Regions from separate parts of the Homo sapiens genome. Here all the other regions are linked to region 1. Evidence: promoter capture Hi-C in human tissues and cell types (Jung and others, 2019). All regions are on one chromosome and are shown on one strand. The core of a region is centred on a gene start or on the middle of the fragment in contact, and the rest is flanking DNA. Distances in the headings are between cores, read along the strand shown. Region 1 holds the start of PABPN1 (poly(A) binding protein nuclear 1). Region 2 holds the start of TSSK4 (testis specific serine kinase 4). Region 3 holds the start of REC8 (REC8 meiotic recombination protein). Region 4 holds the start of PSME2 (proteasome activator subunit 2). Region 5 overlaps NRL (neural retina leucine zipper). Region 6 has its middle 2.6 kb from the start of DHRS4L2.

Region 1 (4,988 bases), core at 1,146-3,645:
AAAATTCTTCTAAATGGAAAATTTCAATCATTCGAAATCATTTAAATTTTAAAATTTCCAGCTACTCTTTGAAATTTGTAAAAATAAGACACACAGGGCCTGAATTTCCATATGGCCATAATAGGCCAAGTAGAAGCTGCCCCTCCCCTTCTAGTTCGTAATCCCACCCACATCTAGCCTTCATTTTTGTTATCTGGCCTCTGAAGACATTTAGGTGCAACTCCTGATATATCAACATTAATGCCATGATCTTAAATGACACAGATCACCTGTGTTAACACCAAATAACTTACTGCTCAATATAAAACATAATTTATCTATTTGTACACTGTAATTTAAATTATCTCAACTTACTCCCCTTTACTTACCCTTTGGGATGGCCACTAAATTTGTCACACAGTATGGTAACACGGTTGACTGAACCACAGCCATGAAAGTGAGCTTCCAGCTCTTCTGCTGTTGCACCATAGTCCACCTGATGAGAGGAGAAAAATTTCACAGGCACCAGGCAAATTCCTGTCTCAAAAGGAACCCTCCCGAGCCTTTGGTCTGGGCCATCATACACCAAAGCACATGAAATCTGGTAATTTGAGGAATTAATCTCTTTTCCTTCCAAACCCAGAGCCTTTGCTGATTACTGATCATTCCATTACCTTTAACCTCCTTCCCACACTCCCTCCACACCCAAAACCACATCTATCCCGGAGATGTTCCTTTCAGGACTATTAAATAATTCCCCAAAAGAAGAACTTGCCCCCAACCCCAGTCAGAGCCCCAGTACGTACATTGCCAACATAGATGGAACGGGCATCAGCCTCCATCTTCTCCTCAATGGACATGATCACCGGGCCAGCTATCAGGAAAAAATAATTTTTTACAAAAACCACACACTTGTTTTCTACTTGACCAATATGTTGCACTTCCACCACCAGCACTATCCCATAAGCTCAGTGAAGGCAAAGATTTTGGTCTGTGCTGTTCCCTGCTGTACCCACAACCGAGAATAGTGCCTAGTGCATAGCAGGTACTCACTAAATATTCAATAAATTGAAAGAATTAATACACACTTAAAACAGTATAGGAATCCCTCCTGCCTCCAAATCAAATCCCTAATGAATGGCTTTGGTTGAAATGCTTTTAAGAGTGAGCAAAATTAAGTGGGCTGAGACTCCACATTTCTAGATTAAAGGGGAAACCCCTTGCAGCTTGCTTTCTCTTAGAATCCTAAAGCGTCTCCAATTGGAGGAAAAACTATTAGATTTGAAGGTCAAATGCGAGCACGCAACCTCTACAAAGAAAGATAGACGTAGACTAAGAACAAAGAGCAACACAATTATAACAGGCACAAAGGGAGGCACAAGGCTACCACCACCAAAATATACGTTCTGCCTCACAAAGGTCAGAGGAACACACAACGGACTATGACCGCGGCACAGTCATAATAGCTCAGACAAGCAGCTCCAGGGTGCCGAGTATCTAACCCCACATTCCCCATCCTCCCCACAACCCTTCCAACCCGAGAACCCGGGCTCCGCGTGCAACCGCCAGTTACTCACCATTGCCTGGAGGTGGACTCATATTCATCTGCTTCTCTACCTCGTTCTGTAGCTCCTTTAGCTTCTCAGCTTCTTCCTCCATCTCCCTGACTCGAGCTTTGATAGCTTCCAGCTCCTAATATAAGTGGGGAGGGTATGGAGGACAGCTTAAGAGGAACCAACGCAGGGGCTGTGCCCTGCTCTCGGCCAGAGCGCGGCCTCAGCCATGCTCGGCCATTTCCCTCGCCCCATGCGAGGGTCGTGATAAAAGAAAAGCTACCCTCTCTAGAACAACACTAGGCAACCGTGACGCCCGAATCAAGCCAGTCGGGCCCCTTGTAGTGATCGCTGACCCATCCCCGGCCCGACCCGGCCCCAGCCACGTTATTCCCCGCCCAACCCCACCCCCCGCCTGCCACCCGCTCGCCCGAGCTCTGGGCCTCCAGTGACCCGGCCGGCCAGCCGCCGGCCTGCTCGCTCGCCCTCCTTCCCTCACCGGGTCCTCAATGGCGCCGTCCCCCGGGTCACCCTCGACCAGTCCCGGCTCCTCCTCCTCCTCTTGGCTGCCGGGGGCTCCCGAACCAGGCCCAGGGCCCGGAGCTCCCGGGGGGGCGCGGGGCCGGGGCGGCTCCTCTTCGGGCTCGGGCTCCGGCTCGGGCTCCAGCAGCAGCTCCTCAGGCTCCAGTTCCTCAGACTCCAGGCCGTTCCCGTAGTCCCCTGCGCCCCCCGGGGCCCCCTCCCCGGCCTCCCCACCGGCCCCGGGCACAAGATGGCGCCGCCGCCCCGGCCCGGAGCCCCGACCGCCCGCAGCCCCCGCTGCTGCTGCCGCCGCCGCCGCCGCCGCCATCGCCGCTCAGACTGGGGCCCGCCGCCCGGCGATTGGAGAGCTGCGCCGGCCACGCCGAGGACTCATTAGTCAAGCTGCCTGCCCGTCACCATGAGCTAGTACTCCATTGGGGAATATTACTTGGCAATCAAATAAGGCCCCACCTCTAAGGCGGGGCACTGCGCCAAATTCTCAAATCCCGGTAGGGGAAATCTGCCTGTCAATCAACACGCGTCCCACCTCCTATCGAGTCCTTAGGTAATAATACCGCCACGCTGTGACGATATTCCTGCTTCTCCCCGGCCTACGGGCGGGCCCGCGAAGTATGGGACGCTCCGTGATTGGCCCTAGCTAGGCGACTGGAAAGGACCAATCTTCCGATCGCCTCACCGCAGTGGCCCAGTCTCAGATGCCGATTGGCTTGCGAGAGTCGAAGGGGTGACACTCGTTTCGTGACAGGTGAACCTTGCCCCCGAAAGGACTGCCGGGCTTCAAACTTGGGAAACCCGAGGTCACATGACTAGCCAGTCCTAGGGGGCCGCCATCTTGATACTACTGCTTGCCAGCTAGTGAGCTGTTGGCCGGGTGAGGCCCAAAACAGAGCAGCAGTTTCAGGAAACTTGTATCTCGACCAGGAAGCACCAGTAGATGGGATGTTGCTGAAAATGGAGGTTGTGAATGAAGCATTCCAGGAGGGAGCTTACTTTCCCCATCCAGGTTATTGGCACCATCATCCACTAGCTCTCCCGCACCAGAAAGCAGGGAGGATTCCTCAGTCCAGAGCTACTAGTCACAAGTCCTGTCTGTCCCGCCCTCTTGCGTAGGCCTTCTGCTCCCCAGTTCCATTTTCTTTTTCCTGGACAGCTTCCAATGTCACCCCTCCAATCTGCACCGCTAACAGACTGGCCCCCCTTTGCTGGCGAGGTAAAGTCTCAAAACCGTAAATCACGGCCTTCGATACGCCAGCATGTGGTTACTTTGTGGATGTTGTTTCCTTCCACTCTTCTCGTTCCTTTGGGTGTACCTGCACCCAGTCTGTGCCTCTAACATGTAGTCCCCCTTCAATCAAACCACTGCAAACCCCAGCTTCCCCTCATTTCCCAGGACAAGTGGGCCTATCTCCACGGCGCGCTTAATTGTTTTACTGTTTCCTAACTAGGTTGTGAGCGCCTGCAGATGAGGGGCCGGTTCCTATTTATATTCGCATCTCCACGGCCTGGCAATATGCCTACCACATAATGTCCTGTTAGATGTTTGTTGATTGAACAGGCATTGATTGGGGATTTGGGTGCCACCCTTCATTTAAGCCCTCAAGCCCCCAAGATCCCAGAGGAATTTCTCCTGGCAGGTTCCCACTACACCCCTGCACCCCAAGTACCAATGAGACCTAGCCCTGGAAGGCAGGACTGCCATATTTTGGTAGCAGTCCTACACATTTATTAAAAAGAAAGGAATGGCAGTGTACGTTTGCAAGAGAAATTTTTGTGGGCACACTAACCTACAGTTCGAAAGATACATATAGCCCAACCAAAAAGTTAAACAAACATGGTTGGCCGAGGGATTTGGACAAGAGAAGATCCTCATTAGCAAACCAAAAAATCAAGTGACTCATTATACCCCACTATTCCCCTCACCCCCACTTTTTCTCACAATTCCTTACCTCAAGATCTGGGGAACTTGCAGCAGAGTCACAGTCGCTTAAAATTTCACTGCAAATTACTTCATCAGCCATCTCAGCTTCAGTGATCTGGGATAACTAAAGTTGAGCACCGAAGACAAGCTCTAAATGATTGAATACCCTGGAAGAAAGGTCTTTTATACTAATCTTAACCTAATCAAGATTTGTTAATCTTATTGGTACCCAATTTAATCAAGCCAACAAAAGGAAATGTGATTTTTAAAAATGGCTTTGAATCCTATTTTTGTTGAGCGTTTGATTTTGTAATAAGCACCACTCCTTATTATTTCACTGGACTCTCACAACAACCCCACGGGGAAAGTATTTCCAAAACCATAACCTTTTTTAGGGAAAAAGAAAAAGGCTTAATGAAATGAAGAAACTTGCCTAAGTCATTGGACTAATTAGAAGTGTGCAGGGCTGGCTGGGCGTGGTGGCTCACACCTGTTATCCCAGCTCTTTGGGAGGCTGTGGCGGGAGGATCACCTGAGCCCAGGAGTTTCAGACCAGCCTGGCCAACATGGCGAAACCCCATCTCTACTAAAAATACAAAAATTAGCTGGGCATGGTGGTACATGCCTGTAAACCCAGCTGCTCGGGAGGCTGAGGCAGGAGAATCGCCTGGGCAACAGCAAGACTCTGTCTCAAAGGAAAAAATAAAAATTATATATATATTATACATAATATATATTATGTAATATATATAATAATGTGCAGGGAATTCAAAGCCAGCTTTCAAAGCTCAGATCACTACTACTATAAGGCCTGCTTTAATACATAAAAATTATGTGTGAAAAATGGCAAGACTAAATTCCAACAATAAACAAAAGTTTAAGCAAACTATAATTATATCCAAAAAAAATTATTATGCATCTCTTAAAAGGGTTACATAGTATGACAAACATGCGAAAATAATTTTGTTAAGCCAAAGAAGAATGTAAAATTGTAC
Region 2 (4,988 bases), core at 1,786-4,285, 880 kb before region 1:
TAATTTTTGTATTTTTCATAGAGACAGGGTTTTGCCATGTTGGCCAGTCTGGTCTCGAACTCTTGACCTCAAGTGATCTGCCCGCCTCGGCCCCCCAAAGTGTTGGGATTACAGGCGTGAGCCACCGCACCCAGCTCGAATACCCATTTCTAAAAGAACTAACAGTGCCATTACTTTGGACTATAGACAGGCAGAGCCATAATCAAAGTGGAAGAACCAGGGCTTTTACCCCACTACTTGAGCATTTAAACAGCACAAAGATGTAAAATAATGAGCATATGTTGAGTTGAATAATAAAGCTTCCCAAAATAGAGCGTTAATCTGAGCACCCCATCCCCTAAGAGCCACATCATGAATTACACTATTGATTTAACACAGTGTCAAGATTATTGGTTACAGGCTCTGGGCAGAAATCTATCTCTTACTCCAGCAGTGTTCCCTGCTATAAGATTGCCTTGAGAAAAGAATGTCTTTGACCCTAGTTGATGAAACTAAATCAGACTTAGATTTATTTTTGGTAAAAAAGATTTTTAGCCCAAGACCTCCTGCTTTGCTCCTCTCTTAGCCCCCTCCCTCAGCCATTTTCAGGTCGTAATTTGCAAGGATTGGTGCTGTTTAGTGGTGTTGTGGAGCTGGCACATGGCCTCAAGCAGCCTGATCTCATGGGTGGGTTGCTCAGGCTGGAACTTGAGCACCCAGGAATCCTTGATGATGTCCAGAATGGTGGCACGCTTAGTGGCTTGGCGTAGCATCTGGAGGATCAGGTTCTAGAGCAGGGGAGAGAGAGGTCTTGCCTGAGTTTTTCTCCATTGTGCCACACAGGCAATGAGCAGTTGGACCTAAGAAAGAAGCAGGATAGCCCATCATACCACTCTGGTCAAAGTGGGTGTGGCTCTGATTTTATCTTGGAGACCCAGGCAGTTAACTCCCTGGAGGGGAAGGGAAGAGTTCCTTGGGAGGAATGCTTTCCATATTTCCCTTCTGGCCTAAAGAGAAAGAAGCTGGAACCTGTGTATCAGGCAAGGTTTGGAGCCTAGTGGTTGGCCCTTTATGCCTTCCATACTGTTTATTATAGGACAGGAGCTAGTGTGTGAGATGGCTCTGGTGTGGGAAGAGCCTTTCCCCAGGGTTGGGAGGCCTAGGTTGGGTGACCTAGGTTGGATATTCACCCCTCCCTGTGGGTCATCCCTGAAGGCTCAGCCCTCCTTAGGTAGCCAGTACCTTGCACTCCTGGGAGATGGTATGGTTAGCTGGGAAAGTGACCTCCTTCTGAGTCTCTCTTAGCAGCTTTTTGAGATTGGTGTCATCAAAGGGCAGATGGGCGACCACTAGAGTGTAAAGGATGACGCCCATGCTCCAGGTGTCAGACAGGAAAGGGTTGTAGGGCAAGCCTCGTAAGATCTCTGGGCAAGCGTAAGCAAAGCTGCCACAGTAAGTCTGGCTGAGGTGGGAAAAGCAGTTCACTTGGCGGTAAGAAGGGCTACAACCCACAGGCTGGTTAGAAGGCACCATCTTGGCAAAGCCAAAGTCTGATATCTTCACATTCTCCCACTTGTCCAGCAACAGGTTCTCCAACTTTAAGTCCCTACCAGCAGCAGAAAGGCTGGGCATCAGGCTGGGGAGAGGGCTTAGTTTTAGACTGGGAGCTGAAGGGCCAGGGGTCAGAGGGTAAAGATGAGGACAGAGGAAGTGGGAGGTAGAAACCATTATGAGGGCACAAGGTAGAGAGGAAGGAAAGCCATGGAGTTGTGAGCAGAGCCCAAAGTAGGGAGAGAGACAGAGGATGGTATCTGAGGACCACCGGGAGCTCACCATTGTATTTCATAAAATGCTTTGCATACAGTGAGTACTTTATCAGTATCCTTGACCATATGATTAAAATAGAGTGCATGAATAGGCTAGATATTGAGGAGGGAGTTCGAAAGAGGAAAAAAGGACAGGAAATGGGAGATGTGCATAAAACCCCCTTGAGGGCAAAGGCCCCAGTCTGGGTGGCAGCGCCCTCACCGGTGCACGATGCTCTTGCTGTGCAGGTAGGCAATGCCCAGGGTCAGCTGGGAGAACCACTTGCCAGCAAGGGGCTCAGAGCAGGCCCCGTAGCGCTGGATCCATTCAAGGACATCACCACCCTGAGCCAGTTCCAGAATGATGTATACTCGAGATGTGCTCTCAATGGCCCGATAGAAGTTGATGAGGTACTTGTGCCGCAAGACTTTCATTACCTGACCCCAGAAGAAGGACCCATCAAACCTGGGAAGGGAGAACCCTGACTGCACTCCCAGCCGTCTCCTACCCTCAGCTACTGACTTAGGACTTTGCAATAGGATCAGCCCCTCAACCCCAGAGAACTGGTGGCCTGTGGGCAAATGCTATGTTTTGTGCCTTTACTTTTTGGGGACTGAAGGTGAGTGGGTGGATGGGAAAGAGGTTTAACTTACATAAAGTTTCCTAGCTGCTTAGTGAGACATTTCAGTTCTGGTTTAGGGGTTTCTGGCCCCACCCCTCCTGGCCATACCCCTTCTGAGAAACCTCAAGCAGCTTAGTACCAAGCTCCAGTTCCCTCTTCCAGCCCCCTTTCCAACCTGTATTTCACGGGGCAGGAACTTGTTAAGATAGTCATCAGAGGCCTTCTTCTTTGAGATGATCTTGACTGCCACCATAACCTTCTGCTTTGTGTAGAAAGCCTCATATACCGACCCATAGGAGCCATGGCCAATGGCCTTGCCCACCTCATAACCATATTCATCCATGAGGGAATGGTAGGCTGTGGTGGTTGGTGCTGCCTCTAAGACATCTCCCTTCCCCATGGTGTTGGGCTTGCTGAGAGCAGGGAGCTTTACTACTTGGAAGCCTCCTATCCAAAGGCCAACACCTTGAGCTGCTGAAGGCTAGGGTATCAAAGTGAAGTAGGTCCCCAAATGCTTGCCTATATAGTCACACGAGTCTGGGATGCTGGACTCAGCCCTCCACTAGGAACTTGGAGGGGGAAAGAAAGAGAAGCAGTTCTTTTTGTCTCCACTGGCTGTTGTTACTTTCTCCTTTTGGTTACGGAACTCCTCAAGGTCCCATGTTCCGAATACATCACAATCCACCTCCTATCCATCGTTGGCCACAAAACTTGAGAATGAAGTGCGGCCGGGCGCGGTGGCTCACGCCTGTAATCCCAGCACTTTGGGAGGCCGAGGCGGGCGGATCACGAGGTCAGGAGATCGAGACCATCCCGGCTAAAACGGTGAAACCCCGTCTCTACTAAAAATACAAAAAATTAGCCGGGCGTAGTGGCGGGCGCCTGTAGTCCCAGCTACTTGGGAGGCTGAGGCAGGAGAATGGCGTGAACCTGGGAGGCAGAGCTTGCAGTGAGCCGAGATTGCGCCACTGCACTCCAGCCTGGGCGACAGAGCGAGACTCCGTCTCAAAAAAAAAAAAAAAAAAAAAGAGAATGAAGTGCAGTTGGAAACGTACTCATTCCCAGAGGCACCTTCCACAGTCTGGTGAAACTCCTAAAGATCAGACCTTTCATTGATATATGAGTACCTACTAAGTACCAGACACTGTGCTGAATACTTGGATAAAATGTCACCCAAATGTCATGCCAGACCCTTCCTCCTTCCTCAATCCCTACATACAATCTTTCATCAAATCCTGTCTCTGCTATCTCCTACTTATCTCTTTAATGATACACTCAAGGCTTTCCGAGCCCATTGCAGCCCCCTTAGTTCAATAAGGCCAATAGAGACACTATGATCCTAAAGCTTATAATGCAGCATGAGAAATACGAGTGTGAAAGTATTACCATTGTAAGGTATTGAACATGTTCTAGGAAAATCTAACCTTGAAATGCATCCTTATCTTCTATGAGCCAGAACTCTCTAGTTTTCCTCCACATCCTTCTGGTCACTCCTCAGCCTTCACTGAAGTTATATCTTTCTCTATCCATCCCTTAATCATATCCCAAGTGTTACATCACAAGCTTTATTTTCTCAAACCTTCACATCCTCCCTTAATCTTGTCCATACCCATGGTGTCAATACTACATTTATGCTGACTGCTCCTAATTTCATCTCCATCCCATATATCTGGAGTTTAGATAGAGCAGCCAGTATTACGTGGCCATGTCTGCCCCAGGCATGGAACTTACCATATCCATCTCAAACTTAACCATATCAATAATTGAACTTATTTTCTTCTCTCAGACTTTTCTGTGAGTTGTACACTAATCACCCTTAATTTAGACACTCATATGTCATCCCAGACCCTCCTGCCTCAGTCCCTACATTCAATCTATCACGAAATCCTATCTCTTATACCTCCTGATTCTCTCTTTGATAATATTCTCATGGTTTTCTGAGCCCACTGCTAATCCCTTAGTTCACGCCTCCATCATCGAACAGATGGCCCCCGCCAGCCTTCTGCTCCACTCCAGTCTGTCCATCCCAAGTCCAAAGCATAAATCTGATTTTATTTCCATTTGAAACAATTCAGTGTCTCCCCATTCTCTTTAGGATCAAGTCCATCCAAATTCTTTCACACAGCTTTAAGTCTGATCCTGCTTACCTCCCCAATTTTATTTTTTAACACACACGTAATGATCCACAACTGCTTTTCTGTATTTGTGGCAAACTCCAAATCTTCCTTGAGAACTTGGCATAGGACCTTTTTTCTCTTTTTTTTTTTTTGAGATGGAGTTTCGCTCTTGTTGCCCAGGCTGGAGTGCAATGGCACGATCTTGGCTCACTACAACCTCCAACTCCTGGGTTCAAGCGATTCTCCTGCCTCACCCTCCCTAGTAGCTAGGATTACAGACATGCACCACCATGCCTAGCTATTTTGTATGTTTAGTAGAGACAGGGTTTCTCCATGTTGGTCAGGCAGGTCTTGAACTCCCGACCTCAGGTGATCTGCCCACCTTGGCCTCCCAAAGTGCTGGGATTATAGGCATGAGCCACCGCGCCCCGTCTGTTTTTGTTTTGAGATGGAGTTTCGCTCTT
Region 3 (4,988 bases), core at 1,835-4,334, 850 kb before region 1:
CTTGGTAGCAGTGCCTGTAATTCCAGCTACTTGAGAGGCGGAGACAGGAGAATTGCTTGAACCTGGGAAGCAGAGATTGCAGTGAGCTGAGATTGAGCCACTGCACTCCAGCCTGGGTGACAGAGCAAGACTCTGTCTCAAAAAAAAAAAAAAAAAATTTGTGCAAGCAGCAGTGCATCGTTATCCTTGGCAAGTGTTGTGGTTGACAGAGGTGAACAGAAAAGATTCTTGATCTTAAGGAAGTCTAGTGGGGAGACAAGGTTGTATGTAACCCCACAAGAGTCAAGGCAAAGGGTAAAACAAGGCCCTAGCAAAGTACTGAGTTCCCAAACTGCATTTGGTTCCGGCTAAGACTGGGATAAATATTTCATAGAGAAGGGCAGCATTTGAGCCAGGTCTGTAAGAATATGTAGAACCCGACTTGTAGAGGATGAGGGGTGACCATTATGGGCTAGGGAAACAGTACAAGCAAAGATGTGAATGTGGCATCATTGAGGCATAAGGGCCAAACTAGTGTTTAGGAGCCACAGATGCCCAGAGGACTGAGAGAGAAGTCTGGGGATGACTAGTTCTAAACTGGGGTATGTGCCAGGCACGGTGGTTCACACCTGTAATCCCAGCACTTTGGGAGGCCGAGGCGGGTGGAGTGCCTGAGATCAGGAGTTCAAGACCAGTCTGACCAACATGATGAAACTCCATCTCTACTAAAGATACAAAAATTAGCCGGGCATGGTGGCAGGCATCTGTAATCCCAGCTATTCGGGAGGCCGAGGCAGGAGAATCGCTTGACCAGAGGAAGCGGAGGTTGAAGTGAGCCAAGATCATGCCACTGCACTCCAGCCTGGGTGACAGAGACTCCATTTCAAAAAATAATAATAATAGGCCAGCGCGATGGCTCACGTCTGTAATCCTAGCACTTTGGAAAGCCAGGGTGGGTGGATCACCTGAGGTCTGGAGTTCGAGACCAGCCTGGCCGATAAGGCGAAACCCTAAAAAAATTGGGCCGGGCTCTGTGGCTCATGTCTGTAATCCCAGCACTTCAGGAGGAGGAGACAGGCAGATCATGAGGTCAGGGGTTCGAAACCAGCCTGGCCAGCATGGTGAAACCCTGTCTCAACTAAAAATACAAAATCAGTTGGGCATGGTGGCAAATGCCTGTAGTCCCAGCTACTCGGGAGGCTGAGGCAGGAGAATTGCTTGAACCGGGGAGGCAGAGGTTGCAGTAAGCTGAGATCGTGCCACTGCACTCCAGCCTGGGCCACAGAGCAAGATCCTGTCTCAAAAATAATAATAATAATAGTAATAAAATAAAAAAAGAAATAAATGGGGCATGGAGAGCCCCAAATGCTAGTAATCTGTTTGCAGCAGGAGCCACTGTTCAAATGGGGAACCAAGGAAGGGGGTGACATTAAGCTGTAGGAGTATTGGGAATAGATGGAGGAGGACAGGGGTAAGAAAGCCCAGTGCAGAGAGATGAGAGCCTGGATTAGGGCCTTGGCAGTGAAAACAGTGTGGAGACAAGTGGGGACAAGAGCTGCCTCCAGTGGGGAAACCGTCTGATCAGATTGGCCCTGAGTAGGTAAGTACAGGGGGCTTCGCCTGGATGGGTCCACCTTGGCAGTCCCCCTGCACCATCTCCTGTGGGAGAGAGCTGTGGTAAGCTTCCTTCCCCAACCCCAATGTCAGAGTGACACAGGGACAGCACTCCCCTTCTGCATTGCCAATTCACGAGTCTTGGGGAATGAGCCCTACCTGAGGGATATCGAAAGGACTAGGAAGTCTGGGATCCACAGACATCATCCCAAAAAAGGGATCTGGAGCATCTTCTAGGGTCTCCATCATGGCCAGGTGGTTAGGAAGCAGCAGGCTGGGTCTGGGAGAGAATGTAGGCCGTGAAGGACTGAGGCTGAGCCAGGCTGAGGCCAAGCTAGCAGGTGTTCCATCAAAGGCCCAGGGCACACTCACAGCTCAGTCTCCATATCTATTCGGATCTGCAGCTGGGCACGGTGGAGGCGCTCCAAGATGTGCTGGATGTCCTCTGTGGGCAGGGAGGACGAGGTAGACAGCCAGCTTAGCAGACAGCTGCTCAGCCCGCCCCACCTTTGAGGGTTCCCAGCCTTACCCACGAGGTACTGGCATTGTTGAGAATAGACGCGGATCACACCGATCTGAAGTTGGGCTGAGAGATAGAGGGAGAAGCGGGGCCGCGGCAGGCCGGGCTGCGGGGGTTGCACTCGTACCAGCACGTAATTGAGGATTTCCTCGCTGGGGAACAATGCGCCCTGATTACCGCTGCGTCCAGGAGTGGGCCCACAGTCTTGGCCACCCCATCCCCTAACTCACCCCCCGCACCAGGCCCTCCTTCCCTTTTCTGGGCCTTACCAGGTTTTCACCACATTCACCCTCAGGTATTCGCGCTTCACCAACCGGCTGCCGCGAGTCGCCGCCAGCCTGAAGTGGGTGGGGAAGGTGGGAGAATGGGGATGGAGGGGGAGCTGTCAGGCTGGGATCCCGGGCAGCGTCCGCCATCGCGCGCCAACGGGCCCCGCCCTTACCAGATGGTGGCAAAGCAGCCGGTGTGGCGCTGAAGCACGTTGGGATAGTAGAACATTGTCCCTCTGGTCTTTCACCCTCGATTCCACCAGATCCCCGTTCGGATCTGAGTCGGAATTCTTTAGGGCACAGAATTCCCAACACCTTGGAGAGAAGTCAGGATTTGGACTTCTCTGGTGGCAAGGTGGGTGCACCTAGAAAGCCAAGTTAATGAGGCAACGAACAATGGGCAGATACACAATTACCAGGATAACTGAGACGCAGGAGATGGGCGCCCCTCTCTGTGGACCCTCAGTGGATCCGCACGCCACGTGATGCGTCAAACTTGAGACTTCTGGGTTGGGTTCCAGGTTGGAGATGCAGAGCTCCAAGGGGACGTCCGGGCCGGAATCCAGAGCAGGTCCCGAGGGAGCACGGTGTCCTCCACAGCAGGCCTCGGTCCTCGAGCGCTGGGAGCGATGTCAGGCCCCTGGGCCTTGCACTGGCTTGGGCGGCCGCGGTGTGGCCCCGGGCCGCCTACTGCAGGACTAGATCGCACCGCGGGAAGCGAGCGCTTCGGGGCACCGCACCTCGCTCCTCATTAGATGGCGGCTTTTGCCCTGACAGCCAATGGGGAACGGGGGTCGGGTCGGGAACGCCAAGTATCCTGGCAACAGGGTCTCCCGAGGCAGCCAGCAAACCAATCATAAGGATTTTGCGCGCCGCTGGGGTCCATTGTGAGGTGTTCCGACCAATGGGCTCCGGTTCTCGCCTCTAGTAACAGGCGCCCCTTCCTTGACCAATGAGCGCATCCCCGTCGCTCCCCCGCCGCTCCCCCGCCGCAAGCCTGGCAACAAGGGCGCCTCAATTGGTAGGGGAGGTCGGGTCACCTCGGGGGCAACTGTACTGGGCCTCTTCCGGGTGCCAAGATGTACCTTGCACGGCGCCTGACCTGAGGTTAGACCCCGCCCTTCCCCCAATCCACAAACTCCGACTTTGTTTCCAACTAGGGCGTGTCGTGTGCTGCAGAGGAAGAAAGATGTGAGATGAGGCCGGGCGCAGTGGCTCACGCCTGTAATCCTAGCACTTTGGGAGGCCGAGGCGGGCGGATCATGAGGTTAGGAGTTCGAGTCCAGCCTGACCAATATGGTGAAACCCCGTCTCTATTAAAAATGCAAAAGTTAGCTGGGCGTGGTGGCACGCGCCTGTAATCCCAGCTACTCAGGAGGCTGAGGCAGGAGAATGCTTGAACCTGGGAGGCGGAGGTTGCAGTGAGCCGAGATCATGCAGCTCCACTCCAACCTGGGCAAGGGAGCAAGACTCCGTCTCAAAAAAAAAAAAAAAAAAAAAGGCTGTGAGATGATGGCCTTGGAGCCACCACAGGTCAATGAGGAAGAAGTCCATTTTTTTTTTTTTTGATGGCCTTGGAGCCACCACAGGTCAATGAGGAAGAAGTCCATTTTTTTTTTTTTTTTTTGAGATGGAGGCTCTCACTGTTGCCCAGGCTGGAATGCAGTGGCGCTATCTCGGCAATCTCGGCTCACTGCATCCTCTGCCCCCCATCCCCTCAGGTTCAAGCGATTCTCGTGTCTTGGCCTCCTGAGTAGCTGGGATTACAGGCGCCCTCCATCACACCCAACTAATTTTTGCATTTTTAGAAGAGACGGGATTTCACTATGTTGGCCAGGCTGGTTTCTTTTTTTTTTGAGATGGAGTTTCACTCTGTCACCCAGGCTGGAGTGCAGTGGCGCAGTCTCAGCTCATTGCAGCCTCCGCCTCCCCGGTGCAGGGGATTCTCCTGCCTCAGGCTCCCGAGTAGCTGGGATTACAGGCGCCCACCACCACACCTGGCTAAATTTTGTATTTTTTAGTAGAGACAGGGGTTTCACCATGTTGGCCAGGCTGGTCTCGAACTCCTGACCTCAGGTGATCCGCCCGCCTTGGCCTCCCAAAGTGCTGGGATTACAGGCGTGAGCCACTGCCCCCAGCTGAAGAAGTCAATCTTACACGAAACTCCGAAAGGACTTACTGGGGTCACTTCCTAAATCTGAACAACTTAGGTTATGGGCACGCCACGTGTGGTCCTTTCCCAGCTGTCAGTGTTCTCCCGGCTGAAATAGACTTTAGCATTTTTGGATGCAGCACAACTTCCTAGCCTGGAAAAGCCATATTCTCAACAATTATTGTGTAAATTTAAGAGGTACAGTTGTAATAATAACCCTTGTCCCTATGCCTCCTACCTTTGCACAGCCATTTCTTTGGCCTAGAATGTCCTTCTCTGCCTTGACTCCAGAGCATGCTTCTTCCTGAGACTTATATCTTACTGCAGCTGAGCTGACCCTATCTTCTTACAGTCCCCTTCAATTTGAGAGTTTTTTTTTTTTTTTTTTTTTTTTTTTTCTGAGATGGAATTTTGCTTGTCGCCCAGGCTGGAGTGCAATGGACCATCTTGGCTC
Region 4 (4,988 bases), core at 4-2,503, 830 kb before region 1:
CGTGCGGCGTCCAGCTGCAGGTAGCGGGCGGCTAGCGGCAGAGAGCTGGCTAGTAGCGGCCGGAGCTGCTCCAGGGAAAACGCCTGCCCGGAATCCCTCCTCAGGGCGCTCGCCAGCTCCTCGCGGGCCACCAGGAAGGCCCGCTCCTCTTCCTCCCCCGGCATCCTGAGGCAGGAGTCAGCCCCAGCCTCGCCGCCCGCCAGGACCCGGCGCGGGCAGCGCGCGGCCCGAGCGCCGCCCCTCCCGTCTGGTGCCCGGCTTTGAGGCCCACCCCGGCCCACGCAGCCGCCCCAGGTCACTCAGACCACGGTCACTCTCCAGCCCCCGGCCCAGCGCCAGGGTTAGCCGAGAACAGGAAGTACTAGGAGAGAGGGTGGGACTGCGACCCAATTTCGGAGGAACGGGCGGGGCTTAAGGTTAAGGTTGGAGCGGTGTCAGGAAACCAGGGGGCGCGGCCAAGAGGGAGGGCCAGGTCCCAACCAATGAGAAGGCAAATGGCTCCTGGCTCCTCCCTCAGAGCGCGCCAGCATCTTCCCTCAGTCAAGCGCTCTTCCCCGCCTTCCCCCAATCTGGTTCCACCCCTTCCGGATAGCCGCAGGCGCGGGGTTATCCTATTCAGCTCAAAACCTTTCTTTTTCTAGCTGGACCAGTCCGGTACGCTCCGGGCCTCACCGAGGAAGTCCCACCCTGCAGGGGAACCGACTCTGGCCGGCCCTAACCCCTCTCGAGCGAGTCCCGCCCCATCTCCGGTCTGTCCTGAAGGCAGAGGGAAGACCCTCACCCAACCCCTGCCCGCTCTCTTCTAAGAGCTGCTAGTCCTTCTCCACCCCAGGCGCTCCCTCTGGCTGCCCCTCCCACTCGCTCTGATCTCTCTCCGTCCGCTACTTGCGGTCGAGCCTTCTTGGGGGAGCCCCGCCACTGAATACCCCCTTTGCCATACTCCCACCTCTCTTACCCCAACCCTGGACTTCCAGTTGGCCCTAGCTATAAGCCCCGCCCCTCTCCGAGGGACAGCCCCCGCTCCAGTCTCCGCGGTCCCACTTACCCTAGCCCCTCCCTCGGGCAGCCCCTGGACTGTGACCCAGCCAGCACCGCCTCTCCTAGTGGCAACTGGCTGGGAATGGCTGAGGGGCTACCTACTGCTTGCGGCCTGCCAGCGGGAGGAGGGGGGCGGAAAGAAGAAAGGGGGCGGGGTTGAGGGGGGCGGGCCTGGACCTGGGGAGTGAAAGCGAAAGCCCGGGCGACTAGCCGGGAGACCAGAGATCTAGCGACTGAAGCAGCATGGCCAAGCCGTGTGGGGTGCGCCTGAGCGGGGAAGCCCGCAAACAGGTAATGGGGAATCGGAGGCCAGGAAGGGGTCATAGAACCCTCTTGGGTGGAGGCCAAGCTGGGTGGTTCAGGGGACCAAGCAGTGCCAGAGAACTCCCCCAATCTCGCTAGTGCCTTCACTTCTCGGGGATTCCCAGATTCCTGCCTTCTGACTGCAGTGAGCAGGAGCTTCCAGGGAAAGCTAGTTTGTGGTGAGAAAGGCCTGAGCCACAGTTCGAGGGCACCCTGTTGTGGGTGGAAGCTTTTGACAACCCAGACCCTTAACCAACATCCGGGTACTGCTCTCTGTGTAGGTGGAGGTCTTCAGACAGAATCTTTTCCAGGAGGTAAGTCTCTGGATTTGAGCGATTTGACCCAGAATCTTGGACCAATACTTGAGGATAACAGCCTCTCAGAATGACCCCCCCAAGTCACCCTAGACTTAACCCTACTTCCCTTACCAAGCCTTCACCCAAAGTAACCCCGGAATTATTGATAGCTACCTTTAATCTGACCTTTCTTATGACTCTCCCGACTTCTGGCACTTCTCCCGTCTTTTGATGTGGAGGAAAAAAACCATGGCTTCCAAAGCAGGAATATCACAGTCCTAACCTTCGTTCTGCCATTTACCAGCTTGGGCAAGTCCTTTCATTTTCAGGTCTTCAGTTTCCTCATTTGCAAGTCTTGGACCCAGTGATTTCCAAAGGCCCTTCCAGTTCCATTTGTCAGACATCTCATTGAGCATATTCTGTGATTCCCCTCCCTTGCAATGTAACCCACAGGCTGAGGAATTCCTCTACAGATTCTTGCCACAGAAAATCATATACCTGAATCAGCTCTTGCAAGTGAGTAGTGTGGGCCCCTTCTGCCCCATCCTATGTCCTCTATCCCCTTTGCCCACCCTCTCTAGCTAACAACTGGATTCAGCATGCAGAGAATAGTTTCAAATAGTGGATTAGGAACATTAGGATGGCGTGAGGCATGAGCCTAGGTTGGGAGGCAGAGTGCAAGTGGGATGTATGGAGGGAAGGCTGTGACCTAGGATGAAGGGAAGAGGTTGGGCAGCCCTTGACAGTGAGCTCTGTGCAGGAGGACTCCCTCAATGTGGCTGACTTGACTTCCCTCCGGGCCCCACTGGACATCCCCATCCCAGACCCTCCACCCAAGGATGATGAGGTGAGGCACTCAGGGTGCAGGACTTGGACTATAAACCCAATGGAGAAGATAGCCCTTCAACCTCTGTGACTTTTCTAAAGCTACTTTCCCCCCTTTTTGCCTTAGATGGAAACAGATAAGCAGGAGAAGAAAGAAGGTAAGAGAGATAAGAGGTGACTAGGGAAGGGGTGATGGCACACTGACTACTGGATGAGAAAGGGCCTGAATCCCCTCTTTCTCACAGTCCATAAGTGTGGATTTCTCCCTGGGAATGAGAAAGTCCTGTCCCTGCTTGCCCTGGTTAAGCCAGAAGTCTGGACTCTCAAAGAGAAATGCATTCTGGTAAGCCTGGGAAATGGGGGAAGCAGAAAGAGAAGACACACAAGGTGAGGCCCTGGACTCCTCCGTAGATACAAGTCCTTCATACAGAGACCTAGTCCTGAAAAAGAAAACTTCCTTCTGTGCCTTGGGCTTAGATCCCCTTTGTTCTCCTCGTTCTGTTAGACCTCTCTTATCACAACGGTACCCCCAAAATTAGAGACTGTGCAGTATCCACTCTGTAACCTCAGAACCTACTGCTGTATTGGGTTCATAGTAGAGGTGGTATGATATAGTGAGTGAATTGTTTTAAAAGATTGGACCCTAGAGAGAGACTGCTTAGGTTCAAATCGTGATTCTATCAGTTACCTAGCTGGTAGCCTTAAGTAAGTCACTTAGACATTCTGTGACTCAGTTTTTTCATCTGTTAAATGGGTACAATAAATACATATCTCTGAAGGTTGCTGTGATGATTACATGAAATAAATACATGGCACAGTACCTGGTATGTAATAAGTACCCAATTAAATATAACTTTTTTTAGGAAGTGACAGTAATAGGAAGAACTCAGTATGTTTGTTGAATGATTCTTACATGATACCTCTTAACACAGGTGATTACATGGATCCAACACCTGATCCCCAAGATTGAAGATGGAAATGATTTTGGGGTAGCAATCCAGGTAAGAAAAGGGTAACTGAAGATACTTAGAGTGGGGAGAGCCTCAGGGGGTGAGCTAGACATGAACCAGGAGGAGGAGGAAGATAGTGTATGAAATGGGGAGGACATGAAGTGTTGTCTTTGCCTCCCGTGTCACCACAGGAGAAGGTGCTGGAGAGGGTGAATGCCGTCAAGACCAAAGTGGAAGCTTTCCAGACAACCATTTCCAAGTGAGGGCAGCTGGAGGACCAGCATTGGGGGCAGTAGGAGCATTTCTTTGGGACCCCCAGAGCTGGGCAGCCCTATCAGGATGATGGGAGACTTTGGGAAGGGTCTGAGGGAGTACATCTCCCTGAACACTCATTCCTGTGGTATTCCCTTGCTTCTGGCAGGTACTTCTCAGAACGTGGGGATGCTGTGGCCAAGGCCTCCAAGGAGACTCATGTAGTGAGTGGATAGTCCACCAGCCTTTTAGCTGGGTGTGGGACGAGGAGGTGTGGAGGAAGAAGTCCTCCTTGTCTTGTTTGTGACTTTCCCAATGTGGAGAATATTAAGCTAAAAGCATTACCTAGAAAAACTGGTTTGGGCTTCAACAACCTTGACCCTTTTCTCTGCTCAGTCCTTTGGGATCCTATTTCTTGGTGCTAAGAAGGGGTTCATTCTCAAGTTAACCTATTTCCTATAAAAGGAAACCAGACTCATGTCCCAGCCTCCCATGGGACTGACTCAGCTTTGCCTCCCACATTGCAGATGGATTACCGGGCCTTGGTGCATGAGCGAGATGAGGCAGCCTATGGGGAGCTCAGGGCCATGGTGCTGGACCTGAGGGCCTTCTATGTGAGTGTGGAGTAAGGCTTTAGGGGAGGTGGATGAGTGGGGGCAGGCAGGGGATTGGCTAAGAACCTGACTCTTGCACTCTGGCCTTCTCCCAGGCTGAGCTTTATCATATCATCAGCAGCAACCTGGAGAAAATTGTCAACCCAAAGGGTGAAGAAAAGCCATCTATGTACTGAACCCGGGACTAGAAGGAAAATAAATGATCTATATGTTGTGTGGATTCCCTTCTGGCGTGTGTCATTCATTCAAAAAGCATTTATTGAGTGGCACCTATGTCCAGCCTGAAGATGAATGTGGTGGGAAGGGGTGGGTGTCACAAAGACAAAGATGACTTAGATGCCCACTGTAATCTTGACTGTGAGAAAGAGGGGATTCAGGCCCTTTCTCATCCAGTAGTCAATGTGCCATCTCCCCTTCCCTAGTCACCTCTTATCTCACTTACCTTCTTTCTTCTCCTGCTTATCTGTTTCCATCTAAGGCAAAAAGGGGGGAAAGTAGCTTTAGAAAAGTCACAGAGGTTGAAGGGCTATCTTCTCCATTGGGTTTATAGTCCAAGTCCTTCACCCTGAGTGCCTAGGGTGGGGATTGTTACATGCCATGGCAGCCATGCAGATAACCTGTATTTTGGAATGTAACAGTATTATTTTCATCCAGAGGTCTCAGGAATTATTGGAAGAGATGGCATTTGCACAGAGCCCTTATGGGAATAA
Region 5 (4,988 bases), core at 1-2,500, 760 kb before region 1:
CCAGGCCTGGAGGAGCTGTACTGGCTGGCTACCCTGCAGCAGCAGCTGGGGGCTGGGGAGGCATTGGGGCTGAGTCCTGAAGAGGCCATGGAGCTGCTGCAGGGTCAGGGCCCAGTCCCTGTTGATGGGCCCCATGGCTACTACCCAGGGAGCCCAGAGGAGACAGGAGCCCAGCACGTCCAGGTGAGTGGTCAGCAAGCTGGCCTGAGGGGAGGCAGGGCAAGGAAGGAGGACTGCCCAAGAGAGGAAGGGGAGCTCCCAGAGGGGGTTATGGACTGGGACAGGGGACAGAGGGCAGGAGAAGGGGAGAAGGTCCCTTGAAAGCAATCAGATCGAGAAAACTACATTCTGCTTCTCCCCCTTTTCTTAAAATGGAGAGAAATGAGTAGGCTGAACCAGGAGGAGCAGGGAGAAGATAAGATTAGCAGAGAATCCAAAGGGAAGAATTGAGCTGGGGAGTGGGCGACTCCGGGGGGTAAACAGATACATGGTGTGTGGAAACCAGGGAAAGGGTTATGTGTGGAGTGGAGCTGGGTTAAGACTGGTTTAGATTGGCCTTTTCAAGACTTCGTGCTTCCCAGCCCCCAACCTTCTCAGGAAGGATTGGGACTCATCCTATTAATTACAGACACAGATGGGGGTGTTGCGGGCATTAGGATGTAATCCAAATCCTGTGAGGGTCACCGGGTTGCAGGCTTCAGGACAGGGAAACGCAGCGCGTTGGAGGGTTGGGGGCTGTCTGGGTGCGGGTCCACTGGACACACCCGGGCCTGGAGCTGGATGCCGGGGATCCCAGAGACGAGCCCGGGGTTTAGGTGCGCGACGGGCTCGCCTGACCGTGGCCGGCCCTGCACCGTGGGGCGCCCGCCTGACTGGAGCAACGGTCAGCTGGGGGGCCCGGGGAGCGTCGGGGCCTGGGGCGGGCTCTGGACCGAAACAGACTGCGTGGAAGGGCGAGCCTTCCGGTGAAGGTGGGAGCCGGGGCGGGGCTGTCCCGGGGCGGAGCCAGGTAGCGTCGGGCCCTCAGGGCAGAGCCGGGTGCGACCTGGCGCTGACCCGGTTTCTGCATTCTCCCTCCGCAGCTGGCAGAGCGGTTTTCCGACGCGGCGCTGGTCTCGATGTCTGTGCGGGAGCTAAACCGGCAGCTGCGGGGCTGCGGGCGCGACGAGGCGCTGCGGCTGAAGCAGAGGCGCCGCACGCTGAAGAACCGCGGCTACGCGCAGGCCTGTCGCTCCAAGCGGCTGCAGCAGCGGCGCGGGCTGGAGGCCGAGCGCGCCCGCCTGGCCGCCCAGCTGGACGCGCTGCGGGCCGAGGTGGCCCGCCTGGCCCGGGAGCGCGATCTCTACAAGGCTCGCTGTGACCGGCTAACCTCGAGCGGCCCCGGGTCCGGGGACCCCTCCCACCTCTTCCTCTGAGCCGTTCAGAGCACCTTGTGGTGTAGTGGGGGCTGGGTGGGGTGGCTCCGCCCAGGAGGCGGCTGCACGGTTCTCTGCATCGTTACCAGAGCGCCTTCTGGTCCTAGCCACGCCCTGTATGACCGCGCAAATATCCCCAAAGCTTTTGGGTCCTCAAGTCATGCCCGAATTTAGATGCTGGTCATTTTCTGGAGAGGGGTCCCCTCCCCTTACGAACACAGAAACCCAGCCCACATGACTAGCACGCTGAGCTCTGCAGGGACCAGTGCCAGGCACTGGGGGGTGGAAGTGTGGTGACACAGTGAATGGGAGGTGGAGGAGGGTTGCAGCTCCCACCTCAGTTTAGTTTTTAATTCAGGGTTTTCAACCTGTAACACATTAAAGCTGTAATTAGCAATGAGGCTGTATTTTCATTCTGAAGCTTGTAACCTCCCCATTTTAGCACTACAGAATTTTCAAGATTTCAATATCCAACAACTAGATAGATTAGGACCTCTATCCGAGATGCTTTTTCCCTGCCCAACCCTGTGGCCTTCAGGGCTCAGAGCAGCAAAGGCCTGAAGAGTGAGCTCTGGGGGTTGTTGGTGTGGGTTGGGAGAGAGCTGTGTGCAGAAGTCTGGAAACCTGGGTCCTAGTCCCAGCTCTTCCATGGGATCCCCCTGTCACCCTGAGCAAATCAGTTGCTTCCTGGACTTGTGTTACTTCATCTAATTCTCATGTGGATTGGACGACTTCTGCTCCCTTTCCAGTTCTGGCATCTCCCCAGTATGGAAGTCCCGGTGGTCTCCCCAAGAAGTCCCCAAGACAATCTCGCCAAAGGCACCTCCTATCCTGCTGCAGTTTCCCAGCTGCAGCCTAGGCAGGGGATGCACAGCCCAGGCGAGGAAGCCTGGCTTCTCTGTGAGCACATACGTGGGTCCTCGGCAGCTCCCTCCAGGCTGTCTGGGCCTCCAGACCTGCACAGGGTGCTCCTGCCACCTCCCACCTCTCTGAGGGCTGAGGTGAGACTTCTCCTGGGATGACAATTTGCTGAGAGAGTGCAGCTTTTGTGAATTAAACTTGAAGTCCAGGCAGAATTCTAATGCAATAAGCTAAATGTTCTTGCAATTTAAGAAGTGTTCATTCTTTATCCCTGCTTCAGGCTACTGTTTGTGTGTCTGTGTGTGGGAGAGGGAGAGAGAGGGAGAGAGAGAGAGAGCAAGAAAAAGGGAAGTCCCCACCTGGAGCTGGGTGGCACATCTGTTATGGAGAGCCAATGGAAATGGGGTGGAGGGGCAGGCATTGGAACAGATGGATCCTCCCCCTCTCACCACCACCACCACCAAACTCAGAAGCCTCAGTGGCCCAGCTCGGCCTGTCAGTGGCTATCCAGGTCTCACAGTTTCCATGGTAACCCAGTCCTCCAGTTCAGCAGGCTAAGGGGAGGGCAGATGGGGCCTCTGGGCAGAGCACAGGCGTTGTGCTGGGAGCAGCCGCCTCACGAGTTACTGTCATCTGTCCTCTACCGGACATAATAAATGGGAGAAGCTTTCGGGCATGGGGGAAGAGGCTCCCATATGTCCCTCTTCCTTTCTACCCCCTCTCTCCACCCCCTCCCCAGCTGTCTCTTCTCTTCCCATCACAGTTCTTGCTCCCTCTTTCCCCTCCTCTATCCCAGCTCATCCCTCCTCCGCTTAGGAGCCTGCAATGGGAGTCCTCTCCTCCATCGCTCTCAGAATTTCTCTCGTCTCCTCTCCCTTCCCCACCATTGGCCACTGGCCATCCTCTCTGGCTCTGGATTCTCTCTCTGAGGGGCTCACAGAACCTTTAGCTTCTCTTTCTTCATCCCCTTCCACACTCATTGTTGAAGGGAGAGGATGGGGCAGGGAGGGTCCTTCCGGGAGCCCAGCTCTTTTTCTCTCACTCTAAATTTCACCTGTGTCTATCCTTGCCTGCCCTGGAGCTGTAATTCAGACCCACTACTTTTCTTGTTCACTTTTCTCACCTGCATGGCACACAAAGACAGACAGAACCATCCATAGACACCTGAGCACACAACTAGGCCACATATACAGTACCATACCTGGGTCTCAAAATGATACTCCTGGGTTACCTGAGTATACTTAAAAAAACAAAGTTGCACACTGTGGTGATTAAGAGTAGTGCTTTAGGTGGGGCGCAGTGGTTCCTGCCTGTAATCCCAACACTTTGGGAGGCCAAGGAGGAAGTTTGAGACCAGCCTGGGCAACATAGCGAGAACCCTGTCACTACAAAAAAATAAAATAAAATAAATTCAGATGTAATGGCATGCACCTGGAGTCCCACCTACCCAGGAGGCTAAGGTGGAAGGATAACTTGAGCCCAGGAGTTCGGGGATGCAGTGAGCCATAATCGTGCCACTGCATTCCAGCCTGGGTGGCAGAGTGAGACCCTGTTTCAAGTTGCAGTTCTACCAGTTTTTTGACCATGGGTGGGTTAAAATCAAGCCTCACTTGATTGTCAGAAAAATGGTGAAAATAATGGTAACCACCTACTGAGAATAAATGCATTTAAATAAGCACTTAGCATAAAGTTGACACATGCTACGTAATGATATTTGCTGTTGTTGCTGATGTGATTGTTAAGTGTGTGAATCTGTGTGTTCATGCACTGCACATCCCTGAGTCCATGAGTGTGACCCATTAAGGCCATGAACAGACACACACATTGACACACCCGGGAAACCAGACTGTATAGGCCTTAGATGCTCCACTATGTTCCCAATTCACTAGCAGACCTGCTGCCCTCCTTCAGTATCCCCCAGCACCTGCTCTTGGCCCGCCCCACAGCTGTGTGGGGGCTGGGGTTCAGCTCCTGGGGGACTCAGCAGGGCCTCTCTGGAGACAGCTATAAGAAAGCTTCAGCCTGCCCTCCTGACAGCCCGTAATTATCCTCCTATCTCCTGTAATTATTCTCCATGGTGCCTAGACCCCCTGGGGTTGGGAGGTGAGGGAGGGGGCTCCTCAGATCCCACTGGCACATAGCTGGGGTAAGACTGCAGAGACAGCAGCCTGCCTGGGGAGCTCTGTCTCAGATTTTGAAAGGTGCTGGTCCTCATTTCTTATGGTGTGTGTGGGGGTGCTGCAGGCTGCCCAGTGGGCATCTGAGGCATGATGGTTAGAGGCTGAGGTGCTAGGAGCAGTTCTCTTTATTAATGGCTAGAAAGTCAGGATCACCCAAGGAAGTCACTGAGGGGCCACAGCATTGAAGGGTATGGGGTTTGGAGAGATAGGAGCAGGACCCACCACTCACGTCCAGAACCCAGGGGGCACACCTGGTCCAAGAGGTGGAGGCATTGGTCACTGGAGTCACGAGGGTCAGGACAGGCACCTGGGAGGGGGTGGGAGAGTCATAAGCACTCTCTTCTACACTACACCCAGCCTAGTTGGGCTCTACCAAGCCCCACTTTGCACCCCCTGTGTCCACTCCTTTGGAAGCCCCAGGACTCACTGAGAGGCTGAGGGAGTGTCGGTCCGGAGGGAGGCAGTCACGGGCTAGGGCTGGGAGTCGTAGCCAGTGTGCAGGGCCTGGGAGCCCCAGGGCTGATGCCCTGGC
Region 6 (4,988 bases), core at 775-3,274, 670 kb before region 1:
GCTTCCCTGCCTGCCCCCTTCCCGCCCTCGGCCAGCTGGGAGTCGTCTGTGGCGGTTGGCGCCTCCCGCCGCCCGCCAGTCGCCCCGCCCCGCAGCCAGCTACCTTCCGCCTGACTGGGGCTTGCCTTCCCGGGCTGGTGAGTGATCAAAGCGCTCTCCGTTCAAGTTGCCTGTAGGGCTCGCCCCTCCCCTGGCCCCCGCAGGAACCCGCAGACTTTGGCTGCTGCCCTTCTGCATCTGCTTGTCCACGTTTTCTTCTTGGGGAAGTGGGGGTTTTGAGTTGGTTGCTTTTGCTTCTTCAGAATTCCTTCTCCAAGAAAGTCTGGGTCTATGTATGTGACAGCCCACAGGAGGGCAAATGTTTTGAGACTGCCCATGGAGGTGAGGCCTGTGGTCCCCATGGAGTCCACCAGGTGAGGCTGGAGCAGCCTGGGAGAGAGACGTGATAGGCAGTAGCTGCGCCAGGCCTGGCACTGCCCTTCACTCTGCCCAAGGTCTCTTCCATCTTCACGGGCCCTTGGAGGGCAGACTACGGTCATTGGCAAAACAGGATCTCATATCCCTCGCCAAAGGGACTTCCTCCTTTACAGGGGCTAAGTGGTAGCGAGGAGGCTGGACAGTCCCTCAAGCAGTGGTGGAAATGCAAAGAACTCGGGGCACTCAAGTTCTCCCTAACCACTCTGTCCCCAGGTCTTAGCCTCCATCCTAGTTCAATAAATATTTGTTGAATGCAAAATCTCTTTATGAACTGTAAGCTACTAAGCACATAGTAGTTACTGCCACCATGTAGTGATTATTATTGGTGCCCTGGGCCAGACTCTTCATCTGTAAATTACTGAGGGTATGGATGATGAATAAAGTCCTTGCCAGCTATAAATTCTGTGTCCAAGACTTCAGTCTCCACTTCTGCCAAGTGGGCTGAAATGATCTCCCTCCTGGGTTTCCGGGAGAATGAATAAATATGGATGGCTTATGGTACAGTGTAGAAAGGCCGCAACAGACCCAAAGGTAAGTATCTGAATTAGTTTAACCCACTGGCCTCCAAAGCCAGACTGAGAAGCAGTGCTGGTTCATGGCAGCGTTTTCACTAGTTCAAAGCAAAATGAGAAAAGGAAACAATTACAGTGAGTTTCATAAAGCTAAGCTTATTTAACAGTCCTTTATTGTGGAGTATACCTTTCCTTCTTTTTGTGTGTGTGTGTGTTAGTGTTTTGTTTCAGAAAAGATGATGAAAGCAGATGGGTAGGTTTAGAGATGTGTTATTGGTGAAATCACCAGTTTGGCAGCCTTATGCCAGTCCCTACAATTAGAGGGGAAAGAATCCTGGTTTGTGAAATCCAGTTCTAGGCATGACTTTTGAATAGAATTCATGTTTGCTCAAGATTCATTTAGTATATGTGCAGGTCAGCTGAGCAGCTGAAAAAGGATTTGGACATTCAGCTGGGCGTGGTGGCTCACCCTGTAATCCCAGCACTTTGGGAGGCCGAGGCGGGCGGATCACGGGGTCAGGAGATCAAGTCCATCCTGGCTAACACGGTGAAACTCGTCCCTACTAAAAATACAAAAAATTAGCCGGGCGTGGTGGTACTTGCCTGTAGTCCCAGCTACTCGGGAGGCTGAGGCAGGGGAATGGCATGAACACGGGATGCGGAGCTTGCAGTGAGCCAAGATCACGCCACTGCACTCCAACCTGAGCGACAGATGGAGACTCTGTCTCAACAAAAAGAAAAAAAACAAGGATTTCAACATTCAAAAGGGGGTGTATGGCGAGCAAGTAATAGAACAGGCCTGCACTGGATTTCTAGTGTTTTCCTCAGCCAAGAAGTTACAGCTGCAGCACTCTGCTTTGCTACTCAGCACATCCCGATGAGACAGGAGAGCTGCAGTATAATTTTCCCCATGTCCAGGCAAAGCTGACTCTGACTGGTGCTCCTCAGTCTGAGCCTCATGAATTATTGACAGAGGCTGGAAGCGCCACACTCCTTGTGCTCTTGCACTGTTTGGAGCTCATGCACTGTGGGAACCCTTCCCAGGGCTCTCCATCTGTGTGGGGCTGGGGGGAGGGTACACAGGAGGACTGCTGCGGGGGTTCTCAGGGCTTGGTTCAAAGGGACAAGCCTCCAGGGGGGTATTTGATCTCTCTTCCTCTTCTCTTCAGAGGTAGACGGGCCCACTGAGGGGCTGAGGGTTCCAGGAAAGTGAGGAAGACCACACTTCAAAGAGCAAAGGATTCTGGGAAAAGAGAATTGTGGCTTGGGAGCTTGGTGAACAACACATGGCCCTTCCTTGTGTGGGCAGGGTTGCTATTTGGCCTCCAGCACTATTTCTTTTTCTTTCTTTCTTTCTTTTTTTTTTTTTATTATACTTTAAGTTCTAGGGTGCACGTGTACAACGTGCAGGTTTTTTACATATGTACACATGTGCCATGTTGGTGTGCTGCACCCGTTAACTCATCATTTACATTCGGTATTCCTCCTAATGCTATCCCTTCCCCATGCCTGCACCCCACGACAGGCCCCAGTGTGTGATGTTCCCCACCCTGTGTCCAAGTGTTCTCATTGTTCAATTCCCACCTATGAGTGAGAACATGCAGTGTTCTCACAGGGGGCCTGTGAGCAGAAAAGGATAGAAGGAAGTCAAGAAGTATGGGAATCTCTAGCGCTACTCCTCATCAAGCTGGCTTATTGGAGATAAGAACAGGAAATCTTGGGGTGGGCATGGTGGCTCATGCCTGTAATCCCAGCACTTTAGGAGGCTGAGGTGGGCAGATCACTTGAGGTCAGGAGTTTGAGACCAGCTGGCTGAGATGATGAAACCTCGTCTCTACTGAAAATAAAAAAATGAGCCGGGTGTGGTCTGGAGTTTGAGACAAGCCTGGCTAACATGGTGAAATCCTGTCTTTACTAAAAATACAAAAATTAGCTGGGCATGGTCAAGAGTTCAAGACCAGCCTGACCAACATGGTGAAACCCTGTCTCTACTAAAAATACATGCCTGGTGGCATGTGCCTGTAATCCCAGCTACTCAGGAGGCTGAGGCAGGAGAATTGCTTGAACCTGGGAGGCAGAGGTTGCAGTGAGCTGAGATCATGCCACTGCACTCCAGCCTGGGCAACAGAAGGAGCGACTCCATCTCAAAAAAATAAAAAAAGAAGAGGAACAAGAAACCTTTCAGGGAAATACATACATATGTGGGAGTATCTCTCTGAAATGGGAACTGTAATAGGCAATGGGATTGTTCTTGTATGGAGGTGGTAACATCTGCCTATCTTGAGGGACAAATGCCTCCATGATTGAGGGCTCTACTCTCATCCTTTTCAAGGGCTGCCTGCGGTCCAGAAGAGAATTCATCTGGGATGGATTTTAAGTCTTGCATTTTGCAATAGCTGTCCCAGATTCACTGTTGAGTCATGCATCACTGACACAAGTCAGGATTAGGCTATGTGGAAGGGCTGGTGTGGGATTAGGACAACTGCCAAGCAGAGAAATAATAGTAAGAGTGTTAACAGCATTTATTGAGCACTTCCTTAGTAAGTGCTGGCAAGTGTTAAGTGCTTTTTAGAAATTTTATTGAATATTTTTAATCTGGTGAAATGGGTGTTTTAATGTAGGGAGCCAAAGGCCTGAGGGTCGTGACCAACTCAGCATTCCACTGAAGGCTATATGATCAAACAGCCAACTGTTTATCATGATTGCAAAATGTGGGCAAACTCGCTTCTGCACCTGCCACCAGGAGGTTTGCTGAGGGCAATTACTCCCTGGTGCTGTGCTCCTTGAGGTTATCTACTGGAACCTCTGGAGACTACTGTTCAAAGAATGCAGTCATACAAGCCTACACTAAGTCAAGCAGCTTACTGACAACCACCCCTTTCTCCCTATCTCCTTTACTCAGTAAATACGAAGGGGTATAGAAGCTCAGGGCCCTTGTTCCCTAGAAGAAATGAGCCCCCTGACCCCTTCTTCCATATGTACTCATTTGTCTTTATTACCATGTTAATCTTCTTTTGTTCAGTCCACCAAGGACTGTGGCATTTTAAATTCTTTTTTTTTTTTTTTTTTTTGAGATGGCATCTTGCTCTGTCATCAGGCTGGAGTGCAGTGGCACAATCTTGGCTCACTGCAACCTCTGCCTCCCGGGTTCAAGCGATTCTCCTGCCTCAGCCTCCCGAGTAGCTGGGACTACAGTACCTGGTGAGCTAGCACAACACCTCGCTCAGCTAATTTTTGTATTTTTAGTAGAGATGGGGTTTCACCATGTTGGCCAGGATGGTTTCCATCTCTTGACCTAGTGATCTTCCTGCCTTGGCCTCCAAAAGTGCTGGGATTACAGGCATGAGCCACTGCGCCCGGTCGGGTGTTTTAAATTCTATATGTGAAAGTCGAGTGAGTGATGACAACCTCAACCACTGTCTGTGTTGTATAGCTACACTTCATTTTGATGACATTGTTGGGGGATTGATACTTTTCATAGAAATCAATTTTCTCTGAATTGGAATTTTAACTTTCAGGATCAGTGTGTTTTTCAAATCAACACATCTGTTCATTAAATTATAAAAATAAAACATGCTTATTATTTTAAAAAGGGAAAGAAAGTTATGTGAAAAGTAAAAGGTAACTCTTCCCTATGGTTCTTTTACCTTCTTCCCATACAGCTCTTGGCTTTGTGTATCTTTCCAGAAGTTTCCTATACATTTACATGCATTTTTCTTTTAAAAATTGTTTCCACAAATGAGATTACACTGCACATACTGCCCTTCAAATTGCATTTCTTTTCTTTCTTCTATGCTCCAACTCTTTTTAATTTCTTTTTTTTACATTTTTTCTTTTTTTAAATTATTATACTTTAAGTTCTGAGATACATGTGCAGAACTTGCAGGTTTGTTATATAGGTATAAACGTGCCATGGTGGTTTACCGCACCCATCAACACGTCATCTATATTAAGTATTTCTCCTAATGCTATCCCTTCCCCAGCCCCCTATAAACCCAA

Evidence for each region. The method cuts DNA at HindIII sites, captures the fragments that hold promoters and counts their contacts. A contact is called where the count stands out against the background at its distance.
Region 2: a contact is called between the fragment with the promoter of TSSK4 here and the fragment with the promoter of PABPN1 in region 1, in 1 of the 25 tissues and cell types used here (aorta).
Region 3: a contact is called between the fragment with the promoter of REC8 here and the fragment with the promoter of PABPN1 in region 1, in 1 of the 25 tissues and cell types used here (dorsolateral prefrontal cortex).
Region 4: the fragment with the promoter of PSME2 here is called in contact with the fragment with the promoter of PABPN1 in region 1 in 1 of the 25 tissues and cell types used here (dorsolateral prefrontal cortex).
Region 5: a contact is called between a fragment that was not itself captured here and the fragment with the promoter of PABPN1 in region 1, in 1 of the 25 tissues and cell types used here (IMR-90 fibroblasts).
Region 6: a contact is called between a fragment that was not itself captured here and the fragment with the promoter of PABPN1 in region 1, in 1 of the 25 tissues and cell types used here (stomach).

The regions. Positions count from the first base shown.
Region 1 is chr14:23,318,864-23,323,851 of GRCh38, reverse strand. It overlaps PABPN1 (poly(A) binding protein nuclear 1), which reads right to left and starts at 2,395. Exons shown (of 7, transcript NM_004643.4): 1 at 2,032-2,395; 2 at 1,557-1,671; 3 at 786-853; 4 at 369-475. The coding sequence starts at 2,382. BCL2L2-PABPN1 (BCL2L2-PABPN1 readthrough) reads right to left here. Exons shown (of 8, transcript NM_001387346.1): 4 at 1,557-1,671; 5 at 786-853; 6 at 369-475. RefSeq lists enhancers at 1,021-1,830, 1,831-2,642, 2,896-2,965, 2,654-3,304 and silencers at 1,936-2,005, 2,066-2,495. The HindIII fragment of the contact is 10,317 bases long and covers 1-4,988 here.
Region 2 is chr14:24,203,743-24,208,730 of GRCh38, reverse strand. TSSK4 (testis specific serine kinase 4) reads right to left here and starts at 3,035. Exons shown (of 4, transcript NM_001184739.2): 1 at 2,583-3,035; 2 at 2,008-2,222; 3 at 1,222-1,615; 4 at 483-767. The coding sequence starts at 2,807. The coding sequence ends at 585. RefSeq lists an enhancer at 4,504-4,988. The HindIII fragment of the contact is 2,603 bases long and covers 2,027-4,629 here.
Region 3 is chr14:24,170,176-24,175,163 of GRCh38, reverse strand. It overlaps REC8 (REC8 meiotic recombination protein), which reads right to left and starts at 3,084. Exons shown (of 19, transcript NM_001048205.2): 1 at 2,556-3,084; 2 at 2,383-2,451; 3 at 2,123-2,265; 4 at 1,966-2,038; 5 at 1,753-1,873. The coding sequence starts at 2,611. RefSeq lists enhancers at 2,854-3,103, 3,172-3,672 and a silencer at 3,274-3,323. The HindIII fragment of the contact is 13,606 bases long and covers 1-4,988 here.
Region 4 is chr14:24,142,875-24,147,862 of GRCh38, reverse strand. PSME2 (proteasome activator subunit 2) reads left to right here and starts at 1,253. Exons shown (of 11, transcript NM_002818.3): 1 at 1,253-1,329; 2 at 1,623-1,655; 3 at 2,091-2,153; 4 at 2,398-2,484; 5 at 2,590-2,620; 6 at 2,708-2,805; 7 at 3,395-3,463; 8 at 3,604-3,671; 9 at 3,834-3,888; 10 at 4,192-4,278; 11 at 4,374-4,498. The coding sequence starts at 1,282. The coding sequence ends at 4,454. RNF31 (ring finger protein 31) reads right to left here and starts at 365. Exons shown (of 21, transcript NM_017999.5): 1 at 1-365. The coding sequence starts at 164. It overlaps MIR7703 (microRNA 7703), which reads left to right and starts at 4,298; the gene lies at 4,298-4,374. RefSeq lists silencers at 98-327, 358-447, 1,148-1,207 and enhancers at 289-583, 130-630, 768-837. The HindIII fragment of the contact is 10,846 bases long and covers 1-2,610 here.
Region 5 is chr14:24,077,663-24,082,650 of GRCh38, reverse strand. NRL (neural retina leucine zipper) reads left to right here. Exons shown (of 3, transcript NM_001354768.3): 2 at 1-183; 3 at 1,083-3,989. The coding sequence ends at 1,415. CPNE6 (copine 6) reads right to left here. Exons shown (of 17, transcript NM_006032.4): 16 at 4,884-4,988; 17 at 4,564-4,763. The coding sequence ends at 4,921. Among named protein-coding and RNA genes, the nearest start is that of CPNE6, 8.6 kb to the right of the region's middle. RefSeq lists enhancers at 1-399, 1,832-1,881 and silencers at 822-991, 1,202-1,521. The HindIII fragment of the contact is 4,734 bases long and covers 1-3,617 here.
Region 6 is chr14:23,983,878-23,988,865 of GRCh38, reverse strand. It overlaps a transcript of DHRS4L2 not described here. Among named protein-coding and RNA genes, the nearest start is that of DHRS4L2, 2.6 kb to the left of the region's middle. RefSeq lists a silencer at 1-171 and an enhancer at 342-401. The HindIII fragment of the contact is 5,367 bases long and covers 1-4,707 here.